Regions from separate parts of the Homo sapiens genome. Here regions 1, 2, 4 and 5 are each linked to region 3. The links are contacts of gene promoters, found by promoter capture Hi-C in human tissues and cell types (Jung and others, 2019). All regions are on one chromosome and are shown on one strand. Each heading gives the region's core, a stretch centred on a gene start or on the middle of the fragment in contact. The rest is flanking DNA. Distances are from core to core; before and after follow the strand shown. Region 1 holds the start of LOC102723490 (a long non-coding RNA gene). Region 2 overlaps LOC102723490 (a long non-coding RNA gene). Region 3 holds the start of CCDC169 (coiled-coil domain containing 169). Region 4 overlaps DCLK1 (doublecortin like kinase 1). Region 5 overlaps DCLK1 (doublecortin like kinase 1).

What was found. Contacts are between HindIII fragments. The study calls those that stand out against the background at their distance.
Region 1: a contact is called between a fragment that was not itself captured here and the fragment with the promoter of CCDC169 in region 3, in 2 of the 25 tissues and cell types used here (H1 embryonic stem cells and spleen).
Region 2: a contact is called between a fragment that was not itself captured here and the fragment with the promoter of CCDC169 in region 3, in 1 of the 25 tissues and cell types used here (mesenchymal stem cells).
Region 4: a contact is called between a fragment that was not itself captured here and the fragment with the promoter of CCDC169 in region 3, in 2 of the 25 tissues and cell types used here (adrenal gland and bladder).
Region 5: a contact is called between a fragment that was not itself captured here and the fragment with the promoter of CCDC169 in region 3, in 1 of the 25 tissues and cell types used here (dorsolateral prefrontal cortex).

What each region holds. Positions count from the first base shown.
Region 1 is chr13:36,784,496-36,789,541 of GRCh38, forward strand. It overlaps LOC102723490 (a long non-coding RNA gene), which reads right to left and starts at 4,727. Exons shown (of 7, transcript XR_001749825.2): 1 at 4,486-4,727. RefSeq lists an enhancer at 4,560-5,046. The HindIII fragment of the contact is 4,285 bases long and covers 1-3,997 here.
Region 2 is chr13:36,754,652-36,760,016 of GRCh38, forward strand. It overlaps LOC102723490 (a long non-coding RNA gene), which reads right to left. Exons shown (of 7, transcript XR_001749825.2): 2 at 505-736. Among named protein-coding and RNA genes, the nearest start is that of RFXAP, 62 kb to the right of the region's middle. The HindIII fragment of the contact is 3,827 bases long and covers 1,709-5,365 here.
Region 3 is chr13:36,295,676-36,300,251 of GRCh38, forward strand. CCDC169 (coiled-coil domain containing 169) reads right to left here and starts at 2,139. Exons shown (of 8, transcript NM_001144981.3): 1 at 1,962-2,139; 2 at 103-182. The coding sequence starts at 2,044. It overlaps CCDC169-SOHLH2 (CCDC169-SOHLH2 readthrough), which reads right to left and starts at 2,139. Exons shown (of 16, transcript NM_001198910.2): 1 at 1,962-2,139. RefSeq lists enhancers at 1,766-2,727, 2,728-3,690. The HindIII fragment of the contact is 10,512 bases long and covers 1-4,576 here.
Region 4 is chr13:35,991,714-35,996,722 of GRCh38, forward strand. All of the region lies in intron 3 of DCLK1 (doublecortin like kinase 1), which reads right to left. Among named protein-coding and RNA genes, the nearest start is that of DCLK1, 140 kb to the right of the region's middle. RefSeq lists an enhancer at 1,769-2,270. The HindIII fragment of the contact is 4,431 bases long and covers 1,190-5,009 here.
Region 5 is chr13:35,969,348-35,974,620 of GRCh38, forward strand. All of the region lies in intron 3 of DCLK1 (doublecortin like kinase 1), which reads right to left. Among named protein-coding and RNA genes, the nearest start is that of DCLK1, 160 kb to the right of the region's middle. The HindIII fragment of the contact is 6,810 bases long and covers 1-5,273 here.

The sequences.
Region 1 (5,046 bases), core at 605-3,104, 490 kb after region 3:
AGTGCTTCACCCTTTAAGGATATGAAATCCTTAAAGTGGTGGATAGATAAGCTAGAACTAGATTCCCTTCCCTTCCTAATTTCATGTTAGCATGGGCAAGAAGAGACAGTTTGCTACAGATTTCCAAGGCAGAAGTGAATTTGCAGCCATCTTTTTATGCTCAAAAGGTTGTGTCAGGGAACAAGGTGCTGTGGCAGCTCAGGCACATTGTCTCACCTAGTTGGTGGGGGCAGCAGCTGGGCCACCAGCATCCAGCTCCTACTGGATCCTTCTTCAGCTTCTGCAACCTCTGAGCCAGGTGTATGGTTAGCTCCCTGGCAAAGGGCACTGATACCTCCTTTGGGACACCCTCATCACCAAGGTTGCAGGTTTGGAAGAGGTGAGAGACCAGTGCATGCTCAACTCCTTCCCTGTGGGCTACAGGTTTCAATTCGCATCCATCTTCCCTTTCCAATTACCTGCCCTGTAGATTTCAGGCTCCAGCACCAGATACAGAAACAATACAGACTCACATAGACTGCCTAACCAGCTCCCAAAATTATATAAGGTCAACGTATTTGCTATCTATGGTTGCACAACAAATTACTTCAAAACAACATAAACATTTATTATTTCACACAGTTTCTGTAGGTCAGCAATTTGACAGTGGATTAACTAAATGATTCTAACTCATGGCCTTTCATGAGGTTGCAATCAAAATGCTAGCAGGGGCCAGGAGCGGTGGCTCAAGCCTGTAATCCCAGCACTTTGGGAGGCCGAGGCAGGTGGATCACCTGAGGTCAGGAGTTTGAGACCAGCCTGACCAACATGGCAAAACCCCATCTCTACTAAAAATACAAAAATTAGCCAGGCATGATGGCACGTGCCTGTAATCCCAGCTACTCAGGAGGCTGAAGCAGGAGAATCTCTTCAACCCAGGAGGCAGAGGTTGCAGTGAGCCAAGATCGCACCAATGCACTCCAGCCTGGGCGACAGAGCAAGACTCCATCTCAAGAAAAAAAAAAAAAAAAGATGCTAACAGGGGGTCTGCAAACTTTCTATATAAAGGTCAGATAGCAAATATTTCAGGCTTTGTGGGCCATACAGTCTCTGTTGCAATCATTCAACTCCCTTTATAGTTTGAGAGCAGCCACAGGCAATATGTAAAGAAATGGTCTTGTCCATGCTCCAACAAGCTTTCTTTACAAAAACAGTAGACTGACTGGCCAAGAGAGGGTCATAGTTTGCTGATTCCTGATCTAAAAGTTTAATAGCGGCTGGAGTTAATGTTACTAAAATTTAGTGCAGGCAATTGGCAGAGGTCTACAGTTACTCATCTCTCTTGCTTGAGTGTCCCCACAGCATTGTGGCTGGCTCCTCCTGGAGTGAGTATATTATCCCTTTGATTACTTCTATTGGTCACACAGACCAAGAGCGCTACATTGTGGTAGGGGTTCACACAGGGTGTAGATACACGGAGGTAGGGATCATTGGGTGAGCTGTCTTGAAGACTGGCTTCCATATTTAATTCCCTAAAATAAATGATATTCCTACTGGTTTTACGTCTCTGATCATATCCTGACTGGTACTGGAGCTATAATAGTAGACATTTTAACATGCCAAAAAAACAGTGAATTTGGAAAAATGTTTTATTATATTCCAAGCAAATTCTAAATTAATCTAAATAATATTCATACTAGACATACCTTGTCAAAAGTTAAAATTTCAAGAATATTTATACATTTCTGAAAATATCCAAATAGGGAGGAGGAAAAACAACTTTCTTAAAAAGGGGTAAAATCTCTTTTTTTTTTTAGAGACAGGGTCTTGCCCTGTCACCCAGGCTGGAGTGCAGTGGTGCAATCACAGCTCACTCCAGCCTTGACTTCCTGTGTTCAAGCAATCCTCCCACCTCAGCTTCCTGAGTAACTTGGACTACACGCGTGCATCATCACACCCGGCTAATTTTTTTCATTTTTTTTTTTTGTAGAGACAGGGTCTTGCTATGTTGCCCAGGCTGGCCTCGAACTCCTGAGCTCAAGCAATCCTCCTGCCTCAGCCTCCCAATGTGCTCCAATTATAGGCAGGAGCCACCACACTTGGCCTGCTTCCTCAGACTTCTTTACAACACTGAGTTCCTAAAGATAATGAAAAATATGTAAAGACTTTCAGAGGGGAAGCATAATCAAGAATTTCATTCCCAGCCAAAGTGGTGTTCACGTGTGAAGGCAAAGACTGAGAAAGGAAACTACTCATGGATACGTGGCTGACTGAAGGAATTCAAAATAAAGAACTAAAAAGTAGGAAAGCCAAAATAAATTAAGTATAGAAGCTTACATATAAATAACTCCTGTAAATATAATCACAAAACTCAATGTAAAAACAAAACCATTGAACATAAGGGAACACAGGGTAAAGAAAATGAATAATTACGTGTAAGTAACATGGGTACGCTCCTCTGTTTAACCACAGGAAGCCTGGGAAGTCAGGGAAGAAAGTAATAGAAGTCAAGGCAGAAATCTGCCTCCTGCACAAGGCAGCATAAAAATTATATGTAAGCTAAGGCCTGAAAGAACAGTCGGAGTTGGCCAGGAGAATGGGGGATATTCTGGTGACAACAGCAGAAGCCCACTCTGGCTGAGAAAAATAGAAATCAGTTTATGGGAAAAATGTCAGAAGTTCACGGATGCAGTTAAAGGGCAGGAAGGTTAGATTCAGAACGAGACAGACACAGTGACACAGGAGATGTAATAAGCTTGTCAGGCACTGCCTCCGAGATAATGAGCCCTAACCATGTTTCTGCCTGTGTGTTATTCCTTCTGAGACCCAAAGTCCCTGAAGAGAGAGCCAGATTGAACAAGCTCAGGCCTGTTGCTGGCCAGAGGAAGGCAAGACTGTCCCTGATGGCCCCACAGAGACAGCTCACAGTCCATAGGAGCCACAGGAAGGAAACTGAAATGCTGTTACCCATAGGAGAAGAACGGCTGCTAGGCAACTCCAAAATAGTGAATGCTCACTCCAGGGGGACTGAGGCTGGGGAGGGCAGCAGAAACCTATCACAAAGAGCCTTTAAGTCATGCTAAGAAATGTGGACATTTTTCCAAATGAAAATGGGGCATAAATGAAAGGTTTGGAGCAGGAAAGTAATAGATTTGATTTCCATTTTAGAAAGATGGCTCTGGCAGCAATGTGAAGAGGAAACAGGAGGGGGACTAACTGGAGACTGTTGCAGTAATCCAGGTAGAACAGGATGTGGCCCAACTTATTAACTATGGACTGCAGAAAAACACGTGCAGTCTGTCTAGAGAGAATAAAGCAACATAGAACCAACAGATTTTGGTAACTGAGTTACCAATCTTATTATGATTAGATTATTCATCATCATCATCATCATAAGCAATAATAACGTAATAACAGTAAACAACAAATAAGAAACAATTTGATAATGGAAAACTGTGTTCCCCCTTCTCCAAATAATTGATGTGCTATGTGCGATCCATTAATGAGAACTATGTAACCCATCATTTGGCTCACAACCAAATTTGCATCTGATTCACATCAGCAGTGTGGACTCTTGTCTTCTGTGATCTTTTTTTCCTTGATCCTGACTTTTTCCATCTGTATTTATTTTACTGTTACGCTGTGTACGTATCCTTTTTTGGTAAAGTGTCCTAAAAAAACTCAGAACTACAAAATAAACAAACAAAAACTCATCATGCCCATATCCTCAATCAAAACCATTTCCCTGTCTTCATAATTTGCTAATGGCTCCACCATTTCCCTTGTACCTGGAGCTTGGAAACCTCAAGTATCAGAACCACTCCCTCTTGCCTGTCCTCCGTTGCCCACATTCAGATCTTCTGTACATGAAAAAGTTTTTGAATCAGTGCCCTACTTTTCATCTTTCCTTGCTTTGAGTGAAATCTCCCTTTTCCTCTTGCTTAAACCTTCCACCAGCTTCCTAACAGTCTCTCCTTGCCCTCTGACTACGCACCACTGCCAAGTTAAATTCCAATTATATTACTTTTCTGCTTTAAAACTCCGATGATTCACCAATGCTAATAAATTAGGCATTGGCCAGTGGCATATGCCTGTAATCCCAGCACTTTGGGAGGCCAAGGTGGGTGGATCACCTGAGGTCAGGAGTTTGAGACCAGCCTGGCCAACATGGCAAAACCCCGTCTCTACTAAAAATACAAAACTTAGCCAGGCGTGGTGGCACACTCCTGTAATCCCAGCTACTCGGGAGGCCGAGGCAGGAGAATCGCTTGAACCCAGGAGGCAGAGGTTGCAGTGAGCCGAGATCGTGCCACTGCACTGCAGCTGGGGTGAAAAGAGTGAAACTCCATCTCAACATAAATAAATAAATAAATAAATAAGGCATAAACCCTCCCTTCTGTATTAAAGATTTTCTCTCAGAAGATTATAATATGAAAAAGCTAGGAACACTTTTAGAATCCCCTAAATTGAGTACACATATCAGGTCTACTTTTCTTCACTTCATACCTTTTTCCAGGTTCCAGGTACATCCCTGGGTGTCTTAGTCCATTTTCTGCTGCTGTAACAGGATATCACAGACTGGGGAAGTTATGAACAAAAGAAGTTTGTTTGGCTCACAGTTCTGGGGGCTGAAAAGTCCACAATCCAGGAGCCACATCTGGCAAGGGCCTTCTTGCTGCATCATAACATGGAAACTAGGTGGAAGGGCAAGAGAGTGCATGCGACAGAGAAAGCAAGAGAGTGAATGTGGCTTTATGACTAACCTACTGCTGTGACAATGGCATTAATCCACCCAACAGGGTGGAGCCCCCATGACCTAATCACTTTTTAAAGGCCCCACCCCCTCGACACTGCTGCAGTGGGGATGAAGTTTCCAGCACGTACCTTTGGAGGACTTATTCAACCATGACCCTTGCTTCTCATTCATGGAGGAAGAGGAGTGAAGAATCCAAGTGGCAGACTTGGGAGCTCTAGCCCATCCTTTTCCCGTCCTCTTATTTTTGGGGGTCGGCCTGCCTGCTTAGCACTGTGAGCCTCTCTTAGCCTTGGTGTAGGCTTAGTGAAAAA
Region 2 (5,365 bases), core at 2,372-4,871, 460 kb after region 3:
TGATCACAGCTTCCCCTTATGGCTGAGAATTCAAAATCTATATCAGCTCTTTAAACTTTCTCCTCAGCTTTAGAACGGCACCTCCTACACCTCACATGGAAGTTCCAATGATACCTCAAACTCAATGTGACCAAAAAGGTTTTACTTCAAAGTAGAAAAGTTTTTCCTTCTGTGTCCTTTATCCTCTCAGTTTTTCCAAACAGTAATCAACGAATCAGCTTTGTCTCCTTCTCCCCAGTGACTGACCTTGATATCACTAAGTCCTGTAAATTTACAGGACTACCCTACCCCTACCATACGTGTCCCTTTCTCTCTATTTTCATTGTCACTGCTGCAGTTCATATGCTTATTGTCTCTTGCCTGATATTTATTTCCTAACTAGGCTCCCTGTCATATTTGCTCTCTGCCAGTTCATTTATCTTACTTCAGCCAGAGTGATCTGACTGAAGTTGCAAGTGTCAATCTGTCATTGAAACCTCTCCATATTGGGCATTTCATATGTACCTCCTCAGACTCTTTCAGCCTCCGTCTCCTAGGCCTCTGCCACTTGCTCTGTCTCAGCCATTAGCACTTCAAACATCTCCATGCACACCTGTAGAGATCTCCAAGCCAAGGCCTGGAGCTTCTGGCCCCTCTCCACTGCTTCCAGACTCAAACGAAGCCCCATGTCCAGACCCTCGGAGAAGCAAGTGCCAAGGTGAAATTGGACATGCAAGCCCGTGATGCAGATCTGCCCCTGATTGAAAGAGAAAGAGAAAAAGAAAGAAGGGAGGGTGAGTGCAAGCATCTTAGGCTGCGGTGCAATTCTAAGGGAAGTTTGGCAGGGTCATTGGAAAGTTCCCAAGCTAAAGTCTCCTGTCTCTTAGGAACAGACCTGCTTTAGTATCTCTGCTCTGTTCAGTCACTGAGAGCAGGCAGAAGGAAGCATGGTCTCTACGGTGTTGCATATTTTCAGATCATCAAGTCAGACTGTTAGCCAGACATGGCGGCAACCCACCAGATGACAGAACTGGCACACATAAAAGGGGGCTGGACCAGGTCCAAAATTATGAGTAAATTACCATTAACTGCTGATCAGACTGCATACGAACTACTTCTACTGCACCAGCGCCTCACCTTCAACCCATGGGTTTCTGCTGACCAACTCACAGAGGAAGAAAAGGCAAGCCTGGCTCACAGGTACAGAGTACTATGCTGGTGTGCTAAAAATTGACAGTTGTTGTATTATATCCTCAGTTGTAAGAGACCCTGAAAGATGTTCTGGTGAGATGACCCTGAATGGTCTCCTCATCTAGCCCATTGCTTGTGCAATGGGTCCATGAACAGAGTGGCCAAGATGGAAGGAATGAAGACCAGCCTGGGCCTAATAACCAGGGCTTCTTGGCATTATGGCCACTTAGCAGTGGCCAGTGTGCCAACTGAAGGGACTGAAGCTGTGCCCTCAACCCCACACCATTCTTTGAGGTATCTGCCAACTACCTACCTAGTGGCAAGTCAATTATATCAGGCCACTTACACACTGGAGCGGACAGTGAGCATTAATTCATTCTGAAATTGATACATACTCTGAATGTTGGATTGCCTTTCCTAGCTGCAGTGTCTCTATTAGCACCCCCGCCAAAGCACTTATAGAATGCTTTATCATTCAACATGTTTTCCACACAGTGTTCCCTTCAGCGGTGCAATTTTCTACAGCAAAGGTGCTGCAAAAATGGACTTCAGACCAGGAAACTCCCTAATAATACCATGTATGCCATCATCTGGAAACAGTCAGCCCATAAAATGATGAACAGCCTGTTGAAGGCTCAGCTGTGGGTCTGACGTCTTGCAGCGTCTGACACCTTTGTTGTCTTTGAGGAGTGACATATGGACTAAATCAACAGCTGATAATATAGTACTTTACCTCCAATACTAAGAATATTAGGTCCAGGAAGCGAGGGAAGTAGAAGTGACCCCACCTCACCATCAAACACAAGGGCCCATTTACAGCAATTGTGTTTCTCCTCCCTACAATCTAAGATCCTGCCCAATTAGAGGTCCTGGTTCTCAGGGAAAGAACACGTCTGCCAGTGTATCTAAGAGTTGCATTGAACTTGAACTTGTGACTACCACCTGTTCACTTTGGGCTTTCATGATAGTAGTTCAACTGGCAAGGAAATGATTTGCTGTTTTATTGAAATAATTAAGGAGTTGGTGTTACCACCACAGAATGGAGTCACAGAGGATGACGACTGAAACCACCTAGGGGAATCACCGGGTCTCTCTCAGTACTTCCATGCCCCCTGATAATGGTGAATGGAAAAATGCAGCAATCACAGCCTAAAATATACAGGACAAATAAAGCATCAGACCACTTGAAGTTCTGAATCACTGCACCAGGAAAGCAAATTAGACCACCTGAGAGTTGTCTAATGCAGGAAATACAGAATGGGTAATAGAGGAGAGAAGGTATAAATGCCAATTAGAGTCTCAGGACCAGTCCCAATGCAGAAATTGTAGCTTATTTCACTATCTTGCCTTAAGTATTTTAGGAAATCACAACTAGTAACTATCTTGAGGAGACTCTGTGACTGACTGACTGACTTGTACCTCCCCTCTTTGAGAAGCAATGAGACTGATGTGATCTTTACAAATTACATGAATGCATTAAATAATCACAAGTACCCCAAAACTATGTACTCTACTATACATCAGTTTAAAATATATGGTAGGCTCTTTTTTTATTTATTTATTTATTTAGATGGACTCTGGCTCTGTTGCCCAGGCTGGAGTGCAGTGGCAGTATCTCTGCTCACTGTGACCTCCTCCTCCCGGGTTCAAGTGATTGTTCTGCCTCAGCCTCCTGAGTAGCTGGGATTACAGGCACACACTACCACACTCAGCTAATTTTTGGATTTTTAGTAGAAATGGGGTTTCACCATGTTGACCAGGCTGGTCTCGACCACCTGACCTCAAGGGATTTGCCCATCTCAGCCTCCCAAAGTGCTGGGATTACAGGTGGGAGCCACCACACCCAGCCAAAAAAATATAGTAGACTCTTTTACAATACTTTGCAACAGAATAGAGAATAATCTTTTGAATGACACAGGTCTTTTTGGCTATTTGTGGCAATGTATGCTGAATATTTGCTTAGTATAAAGGCATTATATATATTTATTATACAATACATCATGCTCCAAATGTGCTGTCTTTGTCTGTGATGACAAGTGTTTGGAAGATGTTTTCAAATATAGAAACACCCTTAATCACTTCCTTCAGGGTAAAGCCACCATTTTAATAATGAATGAGAAAATAACTGCTTGTTGGAAGAATCAAACTATGGGGAGAATATTTTGAAAAATGGATGTGTGGAATTATTTCCATCATTGTATGATCATACAACTGAAAATAATGTATGCCACCTGTAACAACTCTCCTATATGATTGCTTCTTAAAAGTTGAAAATAAATGTTTCAAACCAGTTTTTAAATCTTCCACATATGGAATTTCAGTGAGTCTGGACCCATCTGTAAAAATATATCAAATGCTGGTCCTTTTGATGACTTTGTACAAACAACTGATGGATATCAGGGAAGATGGACACCAACCAGATATTCTGCTAGAACCTGGAGATTTTTCTTAACATCTATCCTGTTCTTCTCAAGCTTTCCTAATTCTGTCCTAATTCTGTCTTCTCTGTAGAAAAGACAGCAATATAATGGACAGTCTATACTCTGCTCTTATAAGCTCAAGTAATTTTAGTACAAATTCCAAGGACAGAAATAAAGAGATTAGTCTAAGTTTAAACTCTGCTACTAATTAGCCATGTGCCAAGCAAGTCATTCTGGTGAGAGGGGGTTCAAGTTCTGTCACTAAACAATCATGACATTGTATGACTTCACAGCAGCTGCCAAATTTGCAAATGCAAGATGGGACTGCTGCCAACTGATAAGCCCACTTCAGAGAAGGCAGCAGGAAAACCCATGCCACCTTTCCAAAGAACGCAAAAGGAGCTACATTCATATGACCCTCCCTTGACATTTGGGGGTAGAAGAGAAGGAGGGTCTGTCCCTGTGTGTCACACCACTCAGGAGTGATGGTCAGGCTCAAGGAAGTGTCTTTGGATTTGCTGAGCCACAATCCAAAGCCTAATTATGATGCATTACAATAATCAAACTCTTTTTTGCCTGTTTGGTTTTCTTCCCCAAGTCTCTATGTTTAGGATCTTATTTGAATTGAAATCTTTGGAATTAAATGTTATAGACAGTGATACATACAATATGGGATAGTTCTTGTAAAATATAATGAACTGTAAAACCTTGTCATGATTTCAGCTTAAAATATTATTCTATGCCAGGGCAAATGTCAAAGACAATCATCTCCTTTTATTAAGCATTACCTAGAAGATGGATAATATTTAATATGTGTGATGACAAATCTACAAAGAAAAAGAAACACCAAAAGACTGTTCTCAGACTCTGTGATGTTCCACTGTTTAAACACACAGATATCTGTGATATCACAATGTTTAAACAAAATAAAATACCATTTCATATGTAAAGCAAGAATGCTAATCTCCAGATATAGAAGTTATAGGAATTCTTCCTTAAAAAAAAGAAGGTATTCCAAAAGTAAATTCTTATATTAATATTAATTCATTTACTTTTAAAAAGTCAATGTCAGCAGCTGTGCTTGCTAAGATACAAAATTTAAAACCACAGCGAGGAGATAAAATGTAATGGGAATGAATGGGAAAACCCTTGTTTGCCAATATTTTAAAGTCTCCTCTCTAGAAAGTAACTTCCTGGAGGCAGAACTATATTGCTTTTACTCATTTTTGCATCCCCAGAACTTTTCAACCACGCCTGGGACATAATAGTTATTTTATAAGTACTTGTTCAATGGATAAATAAATGAATGAAGTTAGGCAGCCATTAAATTTATTTCAAAGGGGAATTACCAAAAGCAGGCCACACAATTGTTTAGTGACAGAGATAAACTCGCTTTCAATGGAATGATTTGCTTGGCATATGGCTAGTTAGTAGCAGAGTTTAAGTTTATACTAATCTCTTCATTTCTGTCCTCTGGAATTTGTACTAAAATTACCTGGGCTGGCTGGGTGCCGTGACTCATGCCTGCAATCTCAGTACTTTGGGAGGCCAAGGTGGGTGGATCACTTGAGGTCAGGAGTTCAAGACCAGCCTGGCCAACATGGCAAAACCCTGTCTCTACTAAAAATAAAAATTAAAAAATTAGCTGGGCCTGGTGGTACACACCTGTAATCCCACCTACTTGGGAGGCTGAGGCATGAGAATCGCTTGAAACTGGGAAGCAGAGGTTGCAGTGAGCCAAGATCACACCACTGCATTCCAGCCTGGGCAACAGA
Region 3 (4,576 bases), core at 889-3,388:
GGTACTATTATTCAATATATGGAATTTAATGCACCATAGATATCCTGGTAAAATGAACAATAATTATACAGGAGTCACAAATATAAGTATTTACTTATATACCTTCATTGTCAGTATTGAGTTTGGCTTCCAGTTCCGTAATCTTGTGTCTTAGTTCAAATATTGAGAGTTGCACTGCATCCCTGTTATTTAAAATATTTTTGTTGATTATAATTCAATTAAAAATAACATCAGAAAAATAATACATAGTAACCCACTACTACTTCAGGAACAATTTACTATGACACATTATTTACTGAAGGACTGGTTAAGAAATAAGACTCAGGCAAAGGAAGGCTTCCAATTAGTCAGTTCTAGGACTCAAATATGCACTAAAGCTCAAAGACCCCCAGGCAACCATTAGAAATCTTTTATTTATTTTTATTTATTTTTTTGAGACAGAATCTCGCTCTGTCGCCCAGGCTGGAGTGCAGTGGTGCAAACTCGGCTCACTGCAACCTCCGCCTCCCGGGTTCAAGCAATTCTCCTGCCTCAGCCTCCTGAATAGCTGGGATTACAGGCATGCGCCACCAAGCCCTGCTAATTTTTTTGTATTTTTAGAAGAGACAGGGTTTCACCATATTGGCCAGGCTGGTCTCGAACTCCTAACCTTGTGATCCGCCCAGCCTCGGCCTCCCAAAGTGCTGGGATTACAGGCGTGAGCCACCAGGCCCGGCCCTTGGAAATCCTTTATTTTTAACTTAAATATCATCCTAAAGAAGTTAGTTACCTGGTTTTTCAGAACCAAGCAAATTAGGCACTGCACATTATTACAGAAAGGCATACCTAGGGCAATACATAACAGCTGACAAACTGAAACAAAGAGAAAAAAACAAACACTAATTTAAAAGGTTAGCTATTTAGGGCATCAGTAAATAGAACATTATCATATGACAGGGCCATTTATTCAATAAATATTTTTGAGTGCCTATTATGTTCAAGGCATTGTATTAAATACGGAAGAATTCAGTGAACAGTGAACAGAAAAATAGCAATAGCGGCAGCAAAGTTCCACTGGATGCGTATCACAAGCCAATGCTAAGTTCTTTATAGTGCATTTCATTCCAACCTGGGAACAACAGCAGGAGGTATGAGATGACTATTTGTATACCAGTCTTAGAGCTGAGAAAACTGAGGATTAAAGAGGTTAATTAACTTGTCTAAGATTGCATAGTTACTGAGTGACAAGAGATGGAGTTTGTGTTTTTGCAGGACTGTCCTCAAGTACTTGCTCTTATTCTCTACTTCCTCAGAATACACAGAACCTGTCCTCAGAACGCGTGTAGTTTGGTAGCAAAACAAGAAATAGACAGGCAATTAAAATACTGTGACTGGAGCTACAATAGAGGAAAACCCAGAACCCTATCTAGGCACAAAGGAGAGTCCAATTCTCACGGGACTTGTGGATGGAGTTGGGAGTATGTCCAAAAAATACTTTAAATGTTTCAAAAATTTAACACGAAGTACGAATACTGTTTTTAAAAAGCATAAAGGAGGAGTAACAGTTTTACTAAATGTCATTTTATGAAGTTCCCCTTAAAGGGATGAAAGAAAAAAAAAACCCCGTATAACTAAATAAAATCTTTGGAATTTTAAGCAGAAAACCTGGATTTATGGAGACATCAAAACCAAACACAACTTTTGGCATTACAGTATATGGGCAAAATACACGCCATATGATTGGATCCTTAAGGGCAGCACATCCTACCCGGAAAGCTGCCTACTTAACAATACCAAAGGCTTACTCAAAGAGGCACGTGAATCTTTCGCATGGAATACTTTTGGAACCCAGACCGAAGTGCCCAGGGGTTAATCACGGCGCCGGTCTTACAGCACCCTCAGCGGCTTCAGCCCTGAGACTCTGCAGGTGAAGGCTCGGGGGGTGTGGACGGGACCCCACACCGCGCCGCCCGCCGACTCACTTCTTGCGGACTTCTTCCAGCAACTGCTGTTTCAGGCGGTTGGTGCTCACACCGTCGAAGTTGTAGTTTCTCTCTTCCTTCATAGTGTCAGGCCAGAGACCTCCCGCGTCTTTCCCCTCAGCACCTTAGAGCACAAGACATTAAGGGCCACCCAGAAGCCAGTACGGCACGAGGCGGTGAACCCCAACCGCCCCCCGGTCGCACCTCCCGCGCCTGCCCGCAGAGGCACGTGGTGACGTCATAAAGCGATGCCCGCAGGCGGCAGGGGGTGGGGCGAGGGCAGCCGGGGAGACTGGAGAAGCCTACTCTGTGCGGTGGAGCGACCCTGGATAACAGCTCCAGGGACACTCCTTGCTCAAGACGCTGGGGTTAGACGTGCTCCGGCTACACAGCGGAGTGTCAGGGGGCCAAGAATATCCCTCTCCTTTTTCTTCCCTCCTGCTGGCTTTGGTTGCTTTCCTAAACATTGCCCCGGACGGCAAAGTCGGCTTCACTCTTAGCCCTTGTTAGGGAAACGCTGGATCCAAGATTAGCTGCGCCCTTCTTTGCTTCAGTTGAACAAGCACCAGAGTCGCTGATTTGGCAGTGTCGGAGCGGGAGGAACTGGTCTTAAAAAGGTACCTCCTGAACTCGGGAAGACTGCTAACCCTCCAGATTATTGTTTTGCATCTGTGTGCTGTTCATGAACATACCTCAGAGCTGCTCACTGCAACTTGAAATTTCATTATATTTTTAATCACAAAGTTTGCATCCTACCCTTGATACATCTGTGTTTCCTTGACAAAAAGAGACAAACTCTGTAAAATATTTGAAGAGATTTATTCTGAGCCAAATGAGTGACCAATGGCGGGTGACAGCCCTCAGGAGATTCTGAGAACACGTGCCCAAGGTGGTCAGGGTACAGCTTAGTTCTATACATTTTAGGGAGACATGGGACATCAATCAAATGCATGTTAAGATATACACTGGTTCCATCGGGAAAGGCAGGGCAATTGGAAGGGGTGGGGGACGGGGTGGCTTCCAGGTCACAGCTAGATTCAAAGATTTTCTGATTGGCAATTGGTTGAAAAGTTACTGACTAAAGACTTAGGAATGTCTTTAGAGAATAAAGGGGTTGTGGAGACCAAGGTTTTAGTGAGAATGGGATAATTGGTGTGGAAAACACAATTTGGTGTCAGAAGTGTTGTGAATACATAGTTTTCCAATTGAGTTTCTGGATGAGATTAACATTTCAATTGGTAGACTGAGTATAGTACATTGTCTTCCCCAATGTGGGTGGGCCTCAGCCAATCGACCGAAGACAGAATAGAACAAAAAGGCTGACCTCCCAGGAGTAAGAGGGAGCTCCTACAGCCAAACAGCTTGAGCTGGAACACTTTTCCAGCCTTGGGCTCAGACTGGGACTGCACATCAGTTTGCTTGCATCTCCAGCTTGTCAACTGCAGATCCTGAGACTTCTCAGCCTTCATAATTGTACGGGCAAATTCCTTATAATAAATCTTTTATACACACACTCCCTATTGGTTCTGTTTCTGTGAATTACCCTAATATAGGAGGTATGCTTATCAAAATTTTGTCTAGCTGTTAAGTCTGAAAGGGCAACTCACAACCAAGTAAACAGAATAGAATGAAGTGAAAAGGACTAGATTATCTGTTGACAAATCCAAATATACAGAGGATTTCTTTTTTGAGACGGAGTCTCATCTGTCTCCCAGGCTGGAGTGCAGTGGCACAATCTCAGTTTACTGCAAACTCCACTCCTGTGTTAAAGCAATTCTCCTGCCTCAGCCTCCCAAAGTAGCTGGGACTACAGGCACGCACCACCATGCCTGGCTTAATTTTTTTGTGTATTTTTAGTAGAGATGGGGTTTCACCATATTGCTCAGGCTGGTCTTGAACTCCTGACCTCGTGATCCACCCACCTCTGCCTCCCAAAGTGCTGGGATTATAGGCATGAGCCACTGCACCCGACCCAGAGGATTTCTTAAAAAGATCTGTTAGCAGGATCTCACTGTGGGAAATTAGGAGCAAAGGCAAGCAGAAAACAGGTTTGTCAACAACTACAGAAACCACAGATTTGTGTTTCTGGCAGAGATAAAGGACCTGAATTTACCCTCCTGCCTGAAACAACTAAAAAACTAAGAGGAACAAAAAAAGAACATTGAACATCAGGCAATAAGGGAAAACGATCACCAAGAGATGAGACACAAATGAGGCAAGCTCCCAAATTGGCCTGGGCCTGCCAGGGTACAAAGCAGAAAGGGAGAAAACAGGCAGAGGCTGGTGGTTGCCCTAAGTTGAGGAAACGGAGTTTCTCTAAGAGTCTAGAGAGAACAAGGCAGCTAGACTTTGCAGGGCAGATATTGGAGGGGAGAGCTGCACAGGGTGTTCCCAGACCAAACTGAGGGTTGGGTTGCTATTTCTTGTGACCCAGTAAGAACATGTAGATGAACTGGGGAGGAAGAGAGTTTTTATTTCTGGAACCAGTTACAGGCAGAAGCCCTGGAAACTATAACCAGACCAACTCAAAATTACAGTTTTCCAGACCTTCTAAGCTATATGTCTATGTGTAAGTGTGCATTCATCTATAGACATTAAGTGGTTAACTTTTTATA
Region 4 (5,009 bases), core at 2,155-4,654, 300 kb before region 3:
ATTAAACTATCTCTTGTTATAGGGGCCTCAGCTGTGAACCTAGGATGGAAGAGGAAAAGATTCTTCTCTTCCCCCCATTAGCAAATCCAGGTCTGATTCCAGATCATTTTGTGAGCTTGAAACTGCCTACCCTGTTCTAACCTCATATGACAAGTTACTCATCTATTTGGGGGTAATGCTAGGAAGATCTTATACACGGCATTGATCAAGCTTTTTCTAATGCCTGGAAAGTGCCACATAAATCACCTAAAATGTCAAATAAAAGCCTAAATGACATATTTAATTATAAAAATTATGTTTTATGATTACCCTGGCTCAGTAGATTTTGGTTTAATTGCCTCTCTGAAAAGTCCCAAGCTAACTGATAATTAATGAACAAATTCTTTTTGATCTATAATGAAATCATAGATTATAGGGGTTCCCACACTCATGCCTTCTAGTTCGCACTTCTTCCTTCTGAAAATCTCAATTTTTAACAGGTTGACAGACGTTCAATTCTGTTTTGAAACGCAAAGTAGTCTGAATCCACTTCAGAGACAAATGATCCCCTCGGATGTGGGAAAACATGCAAGGATTTGCTTTTGCAAGCCATAGTCTCACAAAGATGAGGAGTTCCTGACAGTACATCCAGGCTCACGTTTCAAAATGGAGAATTACAATGCAACATGTTGACAGTACTAGGATGTGGCTGCCATTCCTTACTTTGTTTGCTTCCTTCAAAAGAAAGTGCTTTTTTTTTTTTTAATGTTGGGGGCTTAAAAGAGGAGTGAAAGGTGAAACAAAGGGTTATACAGACAAGTTTTGTGCATTTCTAACTTTGCACTGGAAATCTACTCCTGACTTACTGCAGTCATCTTGAAGCTTAAAATCCAAGATCACTGGCCTTGCTGATTTTCCTTCTATCAATGACCACAAATGCCCCAGTCTCAAAACCCCAGCATCATTGTTGACCAGTATGATCATATGTTCAATTTGCCTAGGAAAGTCCCAGTTTGTGCCTGTTTTCCCACTGTCCTGACCAGTGTAGCATTTGTCTTGGAAAATGTCCTAGGTTGGACAATACATTTTATGATCACTCTATTTCTCCTCTTTCCCCTGAAAATCCTGATCCTTTTTCCTTTGTGTGACCTGGTCATTCATTCCTTTATTTTAATTCTACCACCTTTATGAACTGCACTGATATACTACTCCCCCATCAGTGATCTCCAGTCTCTAATCGATTATACACATGAAGCTACTGCTCTGAAGCCCTGGATATCTTCTCCTTATTTAATGGATTAAATCCAAATTCAGGCATTCAAGATTTTCACATCCTGGTCCTTTTGCTGTTTCTGCAGCCTTGCCTGCAATGTCTCCCTGATGTAATATGTGGGTCCAGCACAATTGCTTGCTCAGCCTCCTACGCACTGTCATATGCATCTGCTTCTGTGATACAGTTGCTCAAGCTGCTCTGCTCTCTTTTATCTAAGACCTACTCTCCTTTCAAGACCAACTCAACTCTCACTTCCTCCCGAAAGCTTTCTCTGCTGTCCCTGCCTTCGATCAATCACCTCTCCTACATGACGCTCCAGCAACAAGTAACCTCAAAACTACTGACTGAACACTTAGCACAGCCTACCTTGCATTCTTCTTTGTCTCTTTCATGCCTCAGTTCTGTCTCTCCAGGTAGACCTTAAACTCATCAAGAGCAAGGATCTTTTCTTATAATTTTTCTTATAATTTTCTTTCCTCCAACAGCCACCAAAATCTGCTGACAGAAGGCAGGAGGCAGCATAAAATACAGGAAAAGCACTGGACGTAGCATGATTTGTCTTAGACTTGCCACTTACTATCTGTGAAACTTGGGGAAAGGTTTACCTCTCATCCTCAGTTTCCGCATCTACACATTGGGGGATGAGGATGAAACCAGTACCTGCCGTGCCTTCATTACCAAGTGGTTGTGAGAATCAGGTAAAGTGAGTGTGTTCTGAATTACAAAGATTTACATACATGAGGAATTAGTTAACATTTTTTTGATGATGGTAATAACATCATCAAAGACATCTAGCCACAACTTAATCAGAACTACCTATCATATGGTGCTTCAGAGAATTCAAATTCAATTCCTTTCTCTGAACACTCATGAGAAAAAAAAAAAAAAGCTAGGATAAGTATCAGCCTTGAGGCTCCCATATTTCATTTCCTCTCTTCAAAGCCAAAGTCTTTAAAGACCTGAGTGTGGAATATGAAAGGCAGGAGTGAGGGAAAGTGACCAGTTAACATCTCTAGTCCTTCCAGCGTTTCAGACTCTTTCAAGTACTTTTCTCTCATCTGCAAAACATCCTTTTGAGATACTGGAACCAATACTATGAGCCCTTTGAAAAAAAGAAAAGGGGAAAAGTAACATGCAGCTTCCAAAAAAAAAAAAAAATCTAACATTTAGCAGGAGTAGGTTGGGGCATGGTGATTTTGGAATCAGTCACACTTTACAATTCCAGCTTCAGGCTTGACTGAAGTGTTCCAGGTGGGCAGCTCTTCTAGAACTTTCCCTGTAGCAGAAGTCTGTTCACTGATGGATGTTTGTGGCAGGAGCCAAGCGAATTAGTCAGATAAAATATAAGCGTGAAAACAGGAAAGTGGTTCTCCTGAAGTTTCTTTTCTAGCTGTAAGCTTCCACACCACAGAATAGTCAATCACATTACAGCCCACAAGAAAAACCTGAAAGAATCATGTTCAGCTGACCTCAAACCACATATTCTTAGCTAATAAAACATCCTTGCATCAGGTCTCAAGAACACAAACTCAAAGCTAATATAAGATAGCAATTCTGCAAGACAGTTTGCCCCTGGTAATTATACTAAAAATAAAAAAAAGGCAGCCAACTGGTGAGGTTGTCTGTTCTTTTTAGAAAAGATATTTCATGTTCCCTCAAGCTTCATTATCAGTGATTGGCTTGGATGAATGGGCGGCTTCCAACAGCTTTTACCCAAGGCCAGGCTTGACAAATGTGGCATGATTTTGGCAGTGCTCGGGCTCTGATTCAGTCTTCAAATGTCTGGCATGGAACATGAACTTCTGAACCTGACCTAAAGCTATTATGGGCTTTAAATTTTCAAGCAATTGCATCATTAAGCAACCAGCATGCGATGGCATTACTATCTTATCCACTGCCTAAATACCACAATGCATTTAAAGGAAGTTGACATAAATCAGCAATGAAAGGCACAGATGACGGCAATAAGAAATGGCCCATCATTAAGGTTCATTCAAAAGCATACAGGTTGGAACTGCAGCACATTCAATTTTAAAATGCAGATATGACACAAATTCAGAAAGCTATGAAGAGCAATTTGTGAATTTTCACCAAATAGCATATGCTCTGAGAAATTTTTGTCTAAGTGTTCTCCAAGGTAGCTTTGTAGTGGTGGAGTTTCTTCCTTTTCTTTCTTAAACCTCTGCTCCAAGAAGAGACAAAGCATCCACATTCAATTATAAGAGTTTTCTTTTTCACCTCAAATTACCAATATTCCCTCATCTTTTCCAATATCATATTGTAAAGATACAATCCAAATGCCTGTGTCTACAAGGATTCAGTGGAGGAAATGACTTAACATTTGAGTGAACTAAGTTCACTTTATTACGAAATCTAATTCTATCCGTTTTCAATATACTAGTTAGTATGGGGCAATATTTTTAATGGGCCACACCAAAATATAATAAAAGGAATGTAAACAGATCAGAGGACAAAGACAAGGAAACCAATCTGGTAGTTTTATTAGCAAAACCAGAAAGAATAAGAACATTTTACTTTCATATAAATGTTCCTTTGTCTTCTTTCATTTTTACTGAGGCCAATTCAAATGTTGAGGAACAATCTGGGAGGCTCTTCAGTTTCAATGATGATTAACAGAAAATTACCATTCTGAATGGAAATTTCACCTCTTCCCAACTCATTAGAATACACTGGCTTTTCTGACTAAATCACAGGTGAGCAAATAATAGAAGACTGCTTATTTTTAGCAGCAGGCTGTGAGAGACAACCTCAAAAAAGATAAACTAACCCACGTACGTGAGATCACACGTTTTTACCATAAATCTTTGTTTCCTGGCTGTTCTTATAAATGCAAATCTAGCAGAAATGTTACAAACATAAGCAATAAGATTACAACAGTTTTCCTAAAATATCTTCTATATTAGGCTTTACTTAAGGCCAACAATATTTTCATCTATTTTAATTTTATTATTTCTTTTTTTTAATTTTTTGAGATGGAGTTTCATTCACTCTTGTTGCCCAGGCTGGAGTTAAATATTATGCAATCTCCGCCTCCCAGGTTCAAGTGATTCTCCTGCCTCAGCCTCCCAAGCATCTGGGATTACAGGTGCCCACCACCACGCCCAGTTAATTTTTGTATTTTTAGTAGAGACGGGGCTTCACCATGTTGGTCATGCTGGTTGCAAACTCCTGACCTCAGGGGATCTACCCGCCTCGGCCTCCCAAAATGCTAAGATTCTAGGCGTAAGCCACTGCACCCTGCCAACCTATTTTAGTTGTAAATAAAATCATCAGTGCTTTAAGAAGGAGAGATAGATTAAGGCCTCCCGTCTTCATCATTCGCTTCAGTGTGCTGGTATTGCAAACAGCACCATGTGCAATGCCCATTCCCACTTGAGGTGGTCAATTTTATGTGTCAACTTGGCTGGGCCACGGGGCCCAGGTATGTAGTCAAGCACTATTCTGCACATTTCTTTGAGGGTGTTTTTAGATGAGATTAACATTTAAATTGCTAAATTTGAGCAAAGCAGACTGCCCTCTGTAATGCAGGTGGGCCTCATCTATTGGTTGACAGCTTGAATAGAACAAAAGGCTGACCTCCACAAGCAGGAGGCCATTCTAGCAGATTTGAACTGCAACATCAGCTCTTCCTGAGTCTCCAGCTTGCCAGCCCTCCCTGAGTATTTTGAACTTGCCTGTCTCGATGTTCACGTGAGTTCCTTAAAACAAATCTCTTTCCATATATATATATACACAC
Region 5 (5,273 bases), core at 1,872-4,371, 330 kb before region 3:
AAGAGACAGAAGAGAAGATAGAGAGGAGAAAGCCATGTGAACATGGAGGTAGAGATTGAAGTGAGGTAGCCACAAGCCAAGGATACTTGGAGCCACCAGAAGCTGGAAGAGACAAGGAAGAATTCTCCTCTAGGGCCTTGGGAGGAAACACAACTCTACTGACACCTTGATTATGAACTTCTGGCCTCAAGAACTGGGAGATAATACATTTCTGTTGTTTTAAGCCAAGTTTGTGATACTTTATTAAGGCAGCCCTGGGAAACTTGTCCAGTGTGCTCACAAGAGATGGCATGTTTCCCTATCAGGGTTCCTCTTTCCCTAAGAAACGCTGGCCCTCCACCCAACACACACTGACTCAGTTGTCAAAGGGGCAAAATCAGTGGTGACTTGGTTGTTTGCTATGAGATAAATGCTTGTGTTCCCCCTAGAATGTGTATGTTGAATCCTAACCCCCGATGTAATAGTATTGAGAAGTGGCACCTTTGGGATGTGATTAGGCATGACAGTGAAGCCCTCATGAATGGGATTAGTGACCTTATAAAAGAGGCCCCAGAAGGCTGCCTTTCCCCTTCCACAGCAAGAAGATACTACCTGTGATCCAGGAAATGATTCCTCACCAAGATATCTTGATCTTGGACTTCCCAGCCTCCAGAACTGTGAGAAATAAATTTCTGTTTTTTATAAGCCACTCAGTCTATGGTATTTTGTTATAGCAGCCAAATGATCTATGACATTGTTTGAGGTCTCTCTCACAATCTAAAGGTCTCTTTCTCCTTTCTATTAAGGGACCGAGACCCTCACACTTTTTCTTTTCAAAGCTGCCTAGCTTTCCTAGGTTTTGCTAATCTTCCTAACAATTAAAGAATTGTTTTCCATTCGTGGCTCCATCCAGAAATTAGTTGTGAAAAGCAATATCAGAAGTGCCACTTCCCCACATTTGAGACCATTCACTTTGCTTTAATGTATCAGGCCTAATGATATTAGCATTTTTTGAATGGTAGGATTTTTCTAGCCAATCCCGCTTCTGATATTTTGCCAAAAGAATAAAAATGGTTAATCCTACTGTTTGAATGTTTGTCCCCTCCAAAACTCATGTTGAAATTTAATCACCAATGTATCAATATTGGGAGGTGGGGCCTCTAAGAGGTGATTAGGCCGTGATGGTTCAACCCTCATGGGTGTGTTTAATGCATTCATAAAAGGACTATTGGCGGTGGGCTCTCTTTCTCGGCTCTTTGCTCTTCTGCCATGTGAAGAATAGTGTTCCTCCTTCTGGAGGATGCAGCCTTTAAGGTGCCATCCTGGGAGTGGAAACTGGACCCTTACCAGACACCTAACCTGCAGCCACCTTGATCTTGGACTTCTCAACCTCCAGAACTATGATACACAAATTTCTATTCTTTATAAATTACTCAGCCTCGGGTATTCTGTTATAGCAGCATAAAATGAACTAAGACAATTAATTTCACAGATATCTTGTGGGGAGAATTGGTGAGGTCAAAAGCAGAAAGAGTAGCCTCATTTCAGTGCCCTAAATGTTAATCACCAGCCTCAGTTAGCACACGGGGCAGTGGCAGAACAGAGATGAGACTGGGCTACCTATGAACAGCCAGGGCCATGGAAGCAGCAAAGGGCCCATGGAGTAACAGAGAAACAAGCTACAAATTTGTTAGGGTAACATACTTGACAGGCAAGAGCAGATGCCCCAGGAATACACTCAGTTCTGTTAAAAAGAAAAGTGAGTTAAACCCAGCTCTTTAGCACTGTATAGCTCAAACAACCAACTGAAGTTATAAGATTTCCACTCTTCCACAAGTGACTGTGCTATGTCAGGGTAGTCTGTTATCAGGATACCATTTTCTTGAATAATTTTTGCCAATGAAGTAGGCAGAGAATGATTGATTGGCTTCAATGTAACTGAAGCACTGAAAAAGAAGAAAAGAATTAAAAGGGCTTTCTCTGGACCCCGCACAAGAGCTCTGCCATTTGGAACAACACATGCATGCTAGTTCCCATTTTAGGTTGAAGGACATGACACCGAAGCTAAGACTTAGAGCTTGATGACACTCCCCTGAGAAATGATGAGATACAAGAAGACAGGAAGATGCGTGCTTTCATCAAAAGTCCACAGTAGGCCAGGTGCAGTGGCTCACGCTTGTAATCCCAGCACTTTGGGAGGCTGAGGCGAGTGGATCACCTGAGGTCGGGAGTTCGAGACCAGCCTGGCCAACATGGTGAAAACCTGTCTCTACTGAAAATACAAAAATTAGCCAGGCATGGTGATGGATGCCTGTAATCTCAGCAATGTGGGAGACTGAAGCAGAAGAATCTCTTGAACCTGGGAGGCAGATGTTGCAGTGAGCCAAGATTGTGCCACTGCACTCCAGCCTGGGCAACAAGAGTGAAACTCCATCTCAAAAAAAAAAAAAAAATTCCATAGTAAAGGCACTCTCCCTGTTAATGCTGGGCCCTGGAGCTGCTAACGCACCTCTGGGATGAAATCCCATCCCTGGACCTCGGTTGTTTTTATTGTTGTTGTTGTTTGCACAAGGACAGGGAGCAAGTTACAAATAATTCCTGTCTTCTACCAGCTAATAATCCTATCTTGGACTTCCTTTCTACGTCTAGACTAAATCCTTCCAATTCTTCATTAACTGCACTCCCAGGAGCTTCTCCTTTTCCAACTGCTGACTTAAAATTCACACTCATTGATTGGTGACCACAGACTTGGATACCTATCCTTGTCCCACAGCTCAACCATTTCCGTGGCTCAGCACCAGCATACCTCCAACTGGTCCTATTTACCACCTAGACATTTCTCTCCTCCTCCTTCCTCTGAGGTCCTTTCTGTGGCTCTCAAACATCTTTCAGCAAGTTCTTTCCTCATGTAGATTCTTAATCAACCATTTGACAGGTAGCCTTTATTTTTTTTTTAAGATGGGGTGTCGCTATGCAATCATAGCTCACTGCAGCTTTGACCTCTTGGGCTCAAGCAATCCTCCTGCCTCAGCCTTGACATGAGATCTTGACTGCTTACTAAGTGCTCAGCTCATGTGTGTGTAGAGAAAGAGACATACAAACAGAGAAGCTCACTACCTCAGAGCTACACACATAGTATCCAATAACTATTTGCTTATCAATTTATGATAAATATTTAAGATGGGGAGTCTGATTACAAACATTCCTGAAAGCTCCGGAGGTATTCTGCATTGATATGTGGAGTCAACAGAGGTTGCCACACAGAGAGAAGTGACAAGGAGCAAGTGGCATGTTAGAGAGGTAGCAAGGAGATGGGGTGGGGGGCAGCACTGAGACAGAGTGGGAAGGAAGCATGATGAATACTGCAGTGAGGTGGACTCAAAAGATGGCTAGAGTGGAAAAACAAAGGACCTTTGAACCTAATTTGATGTAAGAAATGAGGAAAAGGGAGGCCCCATCCCATAGACCATCATGGCTCAAGCACACCCTGTATCCTGTATCCTGATGACACGCAGCCTCCTGGTGCAGTCCTGACCTTTCTCTCTCATCTCCTCTGTCCACTGCATCTCACCAGTCACAAAACTCCCAGTCCTCATGCTGTACAAATGCATTATTATTATTCCCACATCCCCATGCCTGCTCTTCCTCCTGTCCTTTGCTGACATCACTAATAACCCACTTGCCTGAGTCAGCACCCAGTACATTCTGGGGCCCACAGCAGAGGAGCTTCCACGAAGACAGAGAAAGAAAGATGGAGAAAGGAATGAGGATGGCAGGTGAGGGTGGGGCTAAGGGAGGAGAGGCAGAAGGAGGGGAGGTGGTCCATTAGATAAAGAACACACTGCGTTCTCCAGGTCACTTAGTGGGGGTCCAGTGGAACCCCCATGAAATCCTTTCAATGGCGAGGCACATGCAGAGGTCAGTGAGCTGAGGAGCAAAGGGGAGGAAAGAAAATACCACCCACTTGGAGGATCCCAGGCCTCCTGCTTATAGGCTTTTGCCCCTCCTGGGAAGACCTCCCCTTGCTCATGGCCCATCTAATTTTCAGGACTCAGAGCAGGGCCCTCTTCTGGGAAGCTCTCCCCTGCACCTCGCACCTCGGTCTATGCCTTGATTGGGCCAGATGTGCCTAAGTCCTCCTATAGGGCCCACTGGGCTCCTCTCTAACAAGGCATGCCACACACCTCATTATATTACAATGATCTGTTTTCTTCTCTGGTCTTGGGACTATGAATACACATCTTTAGATTCCAAATGCCTAGCCCAGTGCTGGCAAAAAGAAGGTGCTCAACAAATGAATGAATAAATGAATGAATGACAAAAAGAAGAGAACAGAATGTAGGCTTTTCCTTCAAAAGCTCCAATGAGAAAAGGCAAAAAAGAGAGAGCTCAGCTGCTGGAAGGACAGGCAGGGTCAAGGAACGGGGAACCTGATCCTGCAGACAGGTTAAGGATGGAGAAGATGGCAGAAAACTGAAGATGTGAGGAAGAGGGAGCAGGGGCTGGCTCATGGTCCTGGAGGAGGTCAGAGCACAGAGGAGTGAGGATGAACCTGGAGCAGGGACAGAGAAACCCCCCTTTCTGAGACTGGCAGGAAAGGGATGATGTCAGTGAGGTTTGGGGCAAAGGAGAGGGAAGAACATTCTGTAAGTTGAATAAGTTTATGCCCTGGTACCTCATTTTTCTGCAAAAAAATACAGGAGGAAGGGTCATTTACTAAGTAGCAAATAGACATATAAAAATAGAAATAGAAAATAAAACAAATAAAACAAAATGACAAAAGTTTAGAATAACTGCCCAGGAAAAAGTAACTAACATTCGTTGAGCATTTGTTATTTGCTAGAGATCACAGGCCTAATTGAGCCCCCCTCAGATTCATGTGTTGAATTCCTAACCCCGAGTACTTGAGAATGTGACTGCATTTGAAGAGAGGACCTTGACACAGATGATTACTTTAAAATGAGGTCAGTGGGGTGGGATGTAATCTGATCTTGCTACTGTCCTTACACAAAGAGGGAATTTGGTCACAGACAGATGCAGAGGGAAGACCGTGTAAGGACACAAGGGGAGGGTGTCCCACCTGCAAGCCTAGGAGAGAGGCTGATATGATTTAGCTCTATGTCCCCACCCAAGTCTCATGTCGAATTGTAATCCCCAATTTTGGAGGAGGGACATGGTGAGGTAATTGGATCTTGGGGGCGGATATCCCCCTTGCTGTTCTCGTGATAGTGAGTTCTCATGAGATCTGGTTGTTTGAAAGTGTGTAACGCTTCCCCTCTTGCTCTCTCTCTCCT